Regions from separate parts of the Homo sapiens genome. Here all the other regions are linked to region 3. The links are contacts of gene promoters, found by promoter capture Hi-C in blood cells and fetal thymus (Javierre and others, 2016). All regions are on one chromosome and are shown on one strand. The core of a region is centred on a gene start or on the middle of the fragment in contact, and the rest is flanking DNA. Distances in the headings are between cores, read along the strand shown.

Evidence for each region. Contacts are between HindIII fragments. The CHiCAGO score rates a contact against its expected background, and 5 or more counts as called.
Region 1: a contact is called between the fragment with the promoter of TCEAL9 here and the fragment with the promoter of BEX2 in region 3, in 1 of 17 cell types (erythroblasts). The highest score is 5.8, in erythroblasts.
Region 2: a contact is called between the fragment with the promoter of TCEAL5 here and the fragment with the promoter of BEX2 in region 3, in 1 of 17 cell types (fetal thymus). The highest score is 6.3, in fetal thymus.

The regions. Positions count from the first base shown.
Region 1 is chrX:103,354,923-103,358,415 of GRCh38, forward strand. It overlaps TCEAL9 (transcription elongation factor A like 9), which reads left to right and starts at 1,584. Exons shown (of 3, transcript NM_016303.3): 1 at 1,584-1,684; 2 at 2,161-2,239; 3 at 2,693-3,493. The coding sequence starts at 2,763. The coding sequence ends at 3,077. It overlaps LOC124905204 (a long non-coding RNA gene), which reads right to left and starts at 1,642. Exons shown (of 2, transcript XR_007068284.1): 1 at 1,532-1,642; 2 at 1-554. RefSeq lists an enhancer at 1,037-2,236. The HindIII fragment of the contact is 9,435 bases long and covers 1-3,493 here.
Region 2 is chrX:103,275,212-103,278,920 of GRCh38, forward strand. TCEAL5 (transcription elongation factor A like 5) reads right to left here and starts at 1,539. Exons shown (of 3, transcript NM_001012979.3): 1 at 1,462-1,539; 2 at 64-131. The HindIII fragment of the contact is 11,652 bases long and covers 1-3,709 here.
Region 3 is chrX:103,309,032-103,312,323 of GRCh38, forward strand. It overlaps BEX2 (brain expressed X-linked 2), which reads right to left and starts at 1,959. Exons shown (of 3, transcript NM_032621.4): 1 at 1,829-1,959; 2 at 1,327-1,402; 3 at 315-950. The coding sequence starts at 945. The coding sequence ends at 559. RefSeq lists a silencer at 1,695-1,784. The HindIII fragment of the contact is 10,238 bases long and covers 1,596-3,292 here.

The DNA.
Region 1 (3,493 bases), core at 334-2,833, 46 kb after region 3:
ATACATTGAACAATTTTTTTCATGTGAGTAAATGTAACTCCACATCATTTTTTCATCACTGTATAATGTGGCTCTATATGAATGATCAAACTTTTCTTAAACCAATTTCCTTTTAGAAACATATAAGTTTTTGGCTCTTTAAAAAAAACACTATTGCCACAACTACTACAATGACCATATTTGGCATAGGAGTATTAATGTATGATAAATCTCTAGAAGAGGAATTGATGTGTCCAAAAGCACATATCTTCTAAAGTTTGATATTGCCAAAATGACTTCCAAAAATGTTGTACTACTTAATAGTCTCACAGTACATGTGAATATTTGTTTTACCATATGCTCATCAACTCTGAATATAATCAATATTTGTCTTTTCTAATTGTACAGATGAAAAATTAACTCTTATTTTTATTTTCAATAGATCTCAATTCTATGAGCATATGCTATTATTCCCTTCTTTCAGATGAGGAAACTCAGGTTCACAATGTGTACCTGACGATTAATTGATGATTCTTCAGGCAGCACAGCTTCCTGGTAACACCACCATGAGGACTCTGGAATGAAACATTACTCTTTTTTAAAAAATTCTGTATCATTTTCCTCACAAAACTTCTAATATCACAACAGCTTTCACTTTAAAAGCACTTACTATATGCCACATGTACAATAAGCACTGTACATGTATTAACTCATGTCATTAAAGTAATTTTTTCTTTGTCTTTTCTGACTATAAAAAGATAAAAGTTGCCCAGTGCAGTGGCTCAGGCCTGTAATTCCAGCCCTTTGGGAGGTTGAGGCAGGAGGATCACTTGAGCCCAGGAGTTCGAGACCAGCTTGGGGAACATAGACCCTGTCTCTACAAAAAAATTAAAAGACTAGCTGGACATGGTGGCACACACCTGTAGTCCCAGATACTTGGGAGTCTGAGGCAAGAGGATCACTCGTTTCGAGGAGTTTGAGGCTGCAGTGAGCTGTGATCGCACCACTGCAACCCAGCCTGGGCAACAGAGTGAGACCCTGTCTCAAAAAAAAAAAAGAGAAAGAAAGACAGAAAAAAGAAGAGAGAGAGAGAGAGAGAGAGAGATTAAAGTTACCTTTTTAAAAAGGATATAGAAGTACGAAAAATAAAAAGTAAAAATTGCATTCAGAAATCTCACTCTTGTTCCAGGGTCTTTTTTTGTTGTTGTTTCACAACTGCTGCCAAGGCCACCCTGCTCTACAACAGCTAAGAACCAGATTGCAGAGGAAATGGAGGCTAGAGGAGGGACGACTGATGGAGGAGTTATCCTGGGAGTGGAAGAATGGAAGAGACAATTCTCGAAAGAAGTAGAAAAGTTCAGTAGCTCCAGAAAAAGAGGTAGCCCCTCCCTAGTAATCAGAGTCAAGCAAATAACATTTTTCCCGCTGGGATAGGAAACAACAGAAAAGACTGACAGGGCCAAATGTATAAGTGGGGGGCGGGGAGGGAGAGAGGGTGGGCCCACTTCTGCCGCGCTTTTGGTGGGAGTGGAAATTAGGGACCCGAGCTCACTGGTGACGTAGATCTCATGTGACCAGGAGTCGACGTGTGCAGAAGTCCTGGTAATCTGGTCCTTGTTCCCGTCTGGATACCAGCTTCCTTCAGCAGCGCAGGCGGTGGTCCCTGAGGCCCGTGGAAGGAGTCAAACTTGCGGGAATTTTGCAGGTTGGTGTCACTGTAGGTGTTGACTGGGGATTTCTAGTGTGGGGGGGTTTAAGGCAGAGACTTGTGGGAGTGCCGGTCAGGTCCGTCCCTCCACCCTCCACCTCCAGGTCTACGGGAACTGATGACCCTTGGGAAAGGGACTAGGGGTCCTAGGAGAAGAACAGGGAGACCTGTGGTAGTTTAAAAATAATCATCCTCTGCTATCTAAGACTGCTTTCCGGACCCCCACCCTCCTCCCGAACCCCGCCTCAGTCTTAAAGATAGTTTGGAAATAATCTGCTTTCTCACTCTTTGTCTGATGGGAAAAACGAACTGACTTGCATGCACTGTGGAGAGGGGGTGAACTAGGGGAAACAAAAGGTGGGAAACTTTCCATATCCGAAACCCTAAAGGAGGAAAGCTACGTGTGTCAGTCTCTGGCGCTGGTCGGCCCACCAAGCGCTCGCCCCACCCCCACCGTCCCCTCCCGTTTCCAGTTTATCTGCAGGGCTGTTGTTTCCAGCAAGACCCAAAGCTAGAAAAGGAGGAGGAAGAAACTGACCCGATCAGTGCCAGGTAGGTGAGAGGAATATTATAAAGTCTCCTGGGGTGGAGACAAAGGTTGTAAGCGCCACCGTTCCTGCCGGCTCCCTTCCACCCCACCCCTTTCCCCTCTTCTTTTCTCTCCCCCTTCTCCTTTCCCCTCTTCCTCTGCCTGCCAGCCACCTTTCTCTTTTCTGGCCTGGTCCCTGTGTTAGGCCCTATGGGGGAAAAAGGTCTGGGGAGGGCTGGACGGCGGAAAGGAGGGCCTTGGAAAAGGTTAGAGGGAAGGACAAGAGAGAAGTGAGGAGGTGGAAAGTGGAGGTAAAAGGAGTGGGGATAGTGAAGCTCTGATTGCTGACTGGGCTTCTTAGGTGGAAGATATTTTATAACAGCTCTGAATAAAAAAAATTAAATGCTAAGGCCTCTGTCCACAGCACCTGTCCACTCACCAAGTCTTTAACTTACTGTCTTCTTTTTGCTTTCTAGAAGTCATTGTATTCAAAGAAGAATAAGCAAGAAAGAAAAGAAGGAAGGAAGAGAGGTAGACAGATACAAGATGAAATCCTGTCAAAAAATGGAAGGAAAACCAGAAAATGAGAGTGAACCAAAGCATGAGGAAGAGCCAAAGCCTGAGGAAAAGCCAGAAGAGGAGGAGAAGCTAGAGGAGGAGGCCAAAGCAAAAGGAACTTTTAGAGAAAGGCTGATTCAATCTCTCCAGGAGTTTAAAGAAGATATACACAACAGGCATTTAAGCAATGAAGATATGTTTAGAGAAGTGGATGAAATAGATGAGATAAGGAGAGTCAGAAACAAACTTATAGTGATGCGTTGGAAGGTTAATCGAAACCATCCTTACCCCTATTTAATGTAGTTTACCTTGATTTTTATCTGATATTAACAATACCATATAGCTTGCTTTTTATTAGCATTTCCTGATATTCCTTTGTCCATATTTCTACTTATAACCTGTTGCTATTAATGGTTTTAGATGTATCTCTTGTTATCTGCATCTCATTGTTTATTGTATTTTGAACCAATCTACAAGTCTCTGTCTTTTAATAAAAGAACTTTACACATTTGTAAAAAAGAGGTTCTTGGTAAGATATAAAATGGAAAAAGGCTAAGTAATATGTGAATATCATATTTTTGAAAGGTAAAAAGTACATTTGTATATTACATATATGGACATAACTTGTGAAGGATGAAAGAAAGTACAGCCTCTCGGTGGTGGGATTATGAATGATTTTTCTCCTTTTGCTTGTTTGTATTTTCTATATTCCTAAAATT
Region 2 (3,709 bases), core at 289-2,788, 34 kb before region 3:
CTGCTCTGGCTTAAGTTACTCCTACTCCCAAGGGTCCTGGTGCAGTAGCCCTCTCCCACTGACCTGCACCGATACTGCAGGTCTTTCCTTTTCTTGTCTGGGTTAGTGCCCACAACCACAGACTTGAAGACCTGCAGAAAGACAAGAAACAGGTGGGTGAATGAGAAATTGAGAAAGTGAATGACTGGTAACTTGGACACTGGTTCTTTGGGACCGTATTTGTCAAAACTTTCCGAGCTCCTATCACCTCCTCGCCTTTTCCCTTGCATTCTCTGATTCCCCCTCCGCGCGCAGCTCTTTCTTAAGAGCCTCCATTGTTCTACTTGTGGGAAATAGGCGAGAAAGATTATTTCCAAAGCGTTTCTATGTTTCTGAATCTTCCTCCCAAATTTTTATCTCACTTTTCTGGCACGAAAATGAGTAGGGTTAGAGACAAGGATGTTCTGAAGACAGAGTGTTCTGATGCACTCAGATCTCTACATTCCAAATCCCTCACCCTAGGGTAGCCAAATAGCAGAGCCCACCACTTCTCTGAAAATGGTGATGACAGAGATAGGGGGCAGGGCAGAAATGTCCAAAACACTCCTGCCACCTCCTCCCTCCCCACATACACAGAAAGCCCACATTTTTCTGCAATGCAAGAGACAAATTATTTCCAAACCCGGTAACATTTTTGGTCTTGCTGCTACCTCATCTCAATCCTCCTACTTCAGAAGCCACTCCTCCTGGATAGGGAGCTGATCCCCAGATCAAACCTCTGTCTCCCTTTTTCTACAGCACCTCCTTCCCCTGACCCCCTTAGCCCACCGTTTCCGGCTCCAAAATGGAGGGAGGTTGGAGAAAAGACACAGGGAACTCAGGCCTGGACCCGTTGCAGGGTCCGCCCTCAGCAGCCTGGGGTCACTGACTGTGCCCGCCTCCCGCTGCCTTGCAGGGATCAGGCCGTTTTCTCGCCGTTTCGTCGCTGTTCTCTTCCCTGGTCCTCCTCCTCCTCCATCAGACATCACCCGGTCGCCGGCTTCCTAGGAGTTCCCAACTGGTACCCAATTCTCAACCCTTGACCTCTCTCGAGTTCCGCCCCCCTCCCCCCTCCCCGCCCCGCACCAAGCCCTCCATTTCTTGCACCAAATGAGTGAGCATCGGGAAAGGAGTGGAGAGAATCCAGTCCTGGACCCGCTCTGGTCTTTGCCCTCTGCCATCCCAACCACAGGGATCCACAGGCTGTGGATGGGTTCGTAGCCATCTCGGGGAAATGACTCTTTCTCACATTTCCTTCTGCCAGAAGCCTGCACTTCTCCAGGGAAATAAAAGCTGGTACCCATACCTCTTGCCCAACACAAAAAAATTTCTGCGCCAAAATGAATGGGGGTGGAACAGGGCGGTATCTAGAAAGCAGATCCGATCCTCTGTAGCCTATGTGCATTACCATCCCTACCTCAGGGGTCCCCGGCTTGTACCGACCTGCAGGGCTGTAGGGCAGTTGCCTTCTCTGTCCTTCAGTCTGAAGTCTGCCTTCCTCCACGGAAACAGGGATCTGGTACCTGGAGGAGAGGGACTTCTGCACACGTCGGCTTCAGATCACGTGAGAAAAACGTCACCAGTGGGCTCGGGTCCCTAGTTCCCCTCCCACCCGCAGAAAGTGCGTCAGGAGCCAGCCCACTTCTTCCCTTCACTAGTCTGTCCGTCTGAGCGCCCTCAGCACCCCCAACCCCGGCTTAGCTCTCTCTCTCGCCCCACAGCACGGGGCCCTGTCACTCATTTTGGTCTTTGCTAATCCCACAGGTCAAATGTGGCCCTTTCTCTGTGTAGTATGTATTTATTCTTCCGTGGTTATCAGGGAGGGACCGCACCTTCTTCTAGAGCTATTGGCCATTGGTACATCTCAGAGGAATTTTTTTTCTTTCTCTCCTTTTATCCGAAGGCACCTACTCGATCTAATTCTACACGCAGCCACTGATGTTCATTCTGCCTGTGAACCAGACCTTCTCATAATGGGTACAAGGTGGATTGTCAAGTAGGGACACAAGTAGTTAAAATAGGGGTTTTATTTTTTTAAATTTTTTTGATCTTATTTAATTCACTCTCCTCAGCATGGGTTATTCTTATAAGCACAAAATTAAATAAAGCTATTTCATTTATGAGAAAGTGTTTAAGAGAGAGAAAAACTTAAAAGATTTCAAAATTTTCTACTCAGAAGAGAGACCAAATTAGGTTCATAATATTAACTTTTGCCATATACACAAGGAATTCAATTGGCAACAAGCAAAATATACATTAGAAATTTTTCATAAATAGCTGGTTCTCTCACGTTCTATTTAACACACACACACACACACACACACACACACACACACACACACACACACATTTAATGTTCCCAAACGATTACTGAGTGCTAAATAGACTTGCTGGAATCTGATGGTTGAAAGAAAATTCAAAAATGTCTCTTTAAAAAATTTGGCTCATGGCTATTTTCATTCAAATGTTTAGCTCTAGGGGAAGGGAAGAGCTGTGAGACCAAGGCTGCAGGAGATGTGAAGGATGCAGAAATGGTCCTATCCTCCCTGCCCTGCCAAGATCAGGGGAAGGTGTTCTTCTCCACCCCCTCATATTCTAGAATTTCTCATCCCCTGCATTTCTCATCCCCAGGCACATGACTCTGTTGCTCAAGAGTCATCTGTCCAAGAATATAACTGGACAGGTGACCAAGGTGGTGATATGAGTAAATGCCTTTGGCTCCTTCCCTCCTCCCTCCCCCTAATTCCCACAGGGATAACCCAGCCCCAGCACAGAGTGGAGCATTGTTCATGCCTCTAGAAAACTAGAACAGATCTCTTCTAGACCCTTGCAGCTGAGGGTGTTCATGAGGCCTGAAGTGATTGCTGGGGTAGAGTCCCCTGCAACCTGCCTGCTCTCTGCCCTTATTCACAGTGCCTGAGTGGAAGCCTCCCTAGACCCTGTCTGTTACCTCCCGCCTAGCCTAAAAAGTGCAGTCTGGCGGGCCTCTCACCCCCAAACTCTGTATCTTCAGGGAACCCAGAGGGAGCCTAACCTTGCTGCAGGATTGCTGCCTGCCAGTCCATACTAACCTATGACTGTCTCAGCAAATTTAGGCCAGTGTCTAAGGAGTTCTGCCATGCTGTCCATATTGACCTAGACCAAGTATTCCCAATTGATGAAGTCTGTGGGCCACCTGAAAGGGCATGTAAAATTGCATATGTTTAGGAAGTAGTGGAGTATGCACACTCTTGTGAGAAGAAGATCTGTACCCTAGGAGCCTGAATAGTGTTTTGTTCTATTTGCACACCCCATTCTGTTTATCCATCATATGTTGATGAATATTTAGGCATTTTCATCTTTTAGCTGTTATAAATAATGCTGCCATATACAATCACGTATAAGTTTTTGTGTGGATGTATGTTTTTATTTTATATAAGCAAGTTGACATCATGAAAAAGAGGAAACCATAAAGGACAGAAAGAAGAAGCTACTTGACAAAGAGATAAGAAGGGGAAGACACAAATAGCAGCTGAGCCATGTTAAAGAGAGCTCATCTATTCCTTGGGTTCAGGCATTATTAAACTATGAATCCCCTAAAATTATGTTCAAACTTGTGTGTGTGTGTGTGTGTGTGTGTGTGTGTGTGGTCGTGGTTTCACTCTGTTGTCCAGACTAGAGTCCAGTGGTGCATTTATAGTTCACTGTAGCC
Region 3 (3,292 bases), core at 709-3,208:
TACATTTCTAAAAAGAGAACCCAGAGGCAAGCTAAAATTGAGATTCTGTCACAAGTGTTTAGTAAGTGCTCACATCGCTTTTATAAGGTGGTCACATTGCTTTTTATCAGTAATACGTGTTCCATTTTGAAAAATAAGAAATTATGGGTAAGCAAGAATAAACTCCCTCTTAATTCTACCACAGAGATAAACACTATTTACTATATATATGTGTGTGTGTGTATATATATATATATATATATATATATATATATATATATATATGACTGTTTAGGTGCATGTTTAAGATTTAAAGTAAAAAAGAATGCAGAGAATGCTTTTTAAAACTGTTTTATTAACTTCACAATATATAATGAGCATCTTTCCATGCAATAGGTAAAACTCTCCTGCTGACAGAAACTTACAAACTGGGTCAAAAACAACATTCATTTAGAAGCTGGTAATAGGAGACCCACAAGAAATAGGTAACATCAAAACGTTTACGACAAAGGTACACCACAAATGTGTAAGTTTAGGAAGCAGGGGTCTCCCTATTAACTTCAGGGAAACCATCAGGATTCAGGGCATAAGGCAAAACTCATCGTGATGGTCATGGTGAGGGGGATCAGTGCTGACTGCCCGCAAACTATGACTCAACTGCTTTTCCCTCAGCTTTTCCATCAGCTGTCTCACCTCCTCCCCAATCCTTTCCATATTCTCCTCTCTCATCCTTGCCTGTGGCTCTCCAAGCCTATGCATTATGTCCCATCTATACTGCAGGATGGGCTGCCTAACGCGGAACCGCCTACGGTTTCCTCTAGGCACACAGTATTCACTAACATTCAAAGGTAGGGCCAAGGGCTCCCCTTTATTAGCAACTTGCTCCTTTTCATCTTTTTCATCATTTTCCTGGTTGACATTTTCCACGATGAGATTGTTTAACGCTCGTTCCTCTTTGGACTCCATTACTCCTAGGAGACAGAGAGAAAATGGACTCAATTCTTGGTGAACTGATCAGCACCGAGGACAGAGGCCCGACTACCCACCTTTCAAAATTCAGAGCCCTGGATTTCAAAGGCCTTTTTTAAATTTCATTTTTTTTCCACCAGAGAGGCCCCATGTACCCTCGGGGGGGCGAGGGGAGCCAGTCTGTGCCCTTCTCTCCCGCAAAGCCCACCATCTTCTCTGCAGATCCATCTCCAGGCCTCTGCAGGCACCAAAATGGAGGACGAAGAAGGGGTGGGGGTGGGGGATTGCTAAGTGTGGGGGTGAAGGCACGGATTGGGGTCTCAGACTGGGCTTTCCTCATGTTCTGACCCCCTCCCCACCACCGTCCCTCGCACTGACCTGGGCCTATCCTTGCAGTCTCCTCCTCCCGATTCTCGACGTGAGGTGCGTCGCCGCAACACTTGGCCCCGCAAACCTGCAGACGGCCGGGGTGGGAAGAGTGGGGGCTGCTGCAGCGGAACGCTAGAGAGGACCCGCCGCCACCCGGCCCCTTCCCCACGCCGGGCCCGGGCCCTCCTAGCCGCTCTCGCCCCCCGCCTCAGCCGCCCAGCCCCCCAAGCTGACCACCATTTTCTGCATCAAGAAGGGCGGAGCAGGGGTGTTGGAAAAGCTTGCGCTGGTGACGGAGGCAGGTGCTTCCGAAAGGTCGTAGCCTCAGGATCGCCGGCTCCCGCGGGGCCGGGCACCCCTCCGCTCACACAAGGCTCGCGGTCCCGCGGCGGGGCCCCGGGGCTGCATCGTGGACCGGCTGCGTCTCCGCGCTGCTGCCCGGGGATGGGGCATCCGCAGGCCGGGGCTGCTCCCCCACACCAACCCCAGGGACCCCCTCCGGGTCCCTTACCTGCTCCCCCTCCGCTTCCTACTTTCGGGGCCGTACCTGGCCCGCACGTCCTCAGGGACACCGGGAACAGGTACCACTGCCGAGAAGGGAGCGAGCGACGGCGGTTCTGACGCCACAACGAGGTAAGACTCAGTGTTGGCCGATCACGTGTGGCTGTTGTCATCGCCAGAGGCTCCGCCCCCGTCCCACGCCCCCTCCTGCAGCCCGGAGTCAGGTGGTGCTTTCGGGCCCGCCCCCATCCTCACCGGGAGTCCCTTTTAACATCCCCAGCCTGGGCTCTGCCACTCTTCCTTCTCTGTATATTCTTGAGACTTCCCCTGCTTGCCCAGGAAGGACGGAAGGTATCTTCTCAGGGAGCTGTTGGCCATTCCCACTTCTCTGGGGACTTGCCTCTCTCTGCCCTTGGCTCCCAGGATTCACCTCCTTCTGCCTGTCTACCTCCTTCTGTCCTCCTACCAATATTCTCCGTTTTCTCTCCACTAAAATGAGTGGAAGAGGTGTATCAGGAAAGGAGCACAAGAGAGTAGGCTTTTCTCATTCTTAATACCTTTTCTGTATTATTTCTTTTGTAAAACACAAAAAATTAATATACTTCTTTAAAAAGGAAAAAAAGTTATTTTTACTTGAAAGACGGGATTAAAGTTGGGCAAAATGTCCCAACCACCTGTCCTGTTAAGTCATTATATAAATATAGACTCTACACGCAGCTGCTTTTTTAGAACTTGGAAAAGGACAGGGCAGCTGATGGCTCCCCTTTTGAGGGGCCCCTGGACACATGAGGCCCTTCTATGAAATGAGCTAGTGAGTTGTAGTGCTACAGAACCTTGTTGGGTTTTCATAACTAAAAGGAAAAAAAAGGCCTTTTTCACAAATTTCTGGTTCAAACGATAAGTATGTCTTTATTTAAAGATCAAGTAATCATGTATTTAGGAAATCCAGAGACATCTACGGTAAACCTACTATAGGAGTAAGAATTGATTTTAAGAAGGTTGCAGCTACAAGATAAATATTACAAACGTACTCATAAATTTATTTGAAAATGCAAAGGACCTAGAATAGACAAATAATTTTTTTAAAATATCCTACAAATCTTGAGAGTTACATTATATTATTTCAAGACTTAAGGTGTAATAATAAAGTTAGTGTAGTAGTAAACATAGACCTGTAGATCAATAGAACAGAATAGACTCCAGAAATAGACCCATACGTATGTTGTTAATTAGTTTTTGACAAAGATATCAAAGTAATTCTATATGGAAAGTATAGTCTTTTAAACTAATGGTGCTGAAATAACAGAATTCTTAAAGGAAAAAAAGGAGCCTTGCCTTTTATTTATACTATACACAAATTAATTCAAAATGGATCCTAGGCCTAAATGTAAAAGCTCAAATTAGAAAACTTCTAGAATAAAACATACAGAAAAACTTTACAATCTTTGAGAAAACAATTCCTTAGGACACAAAA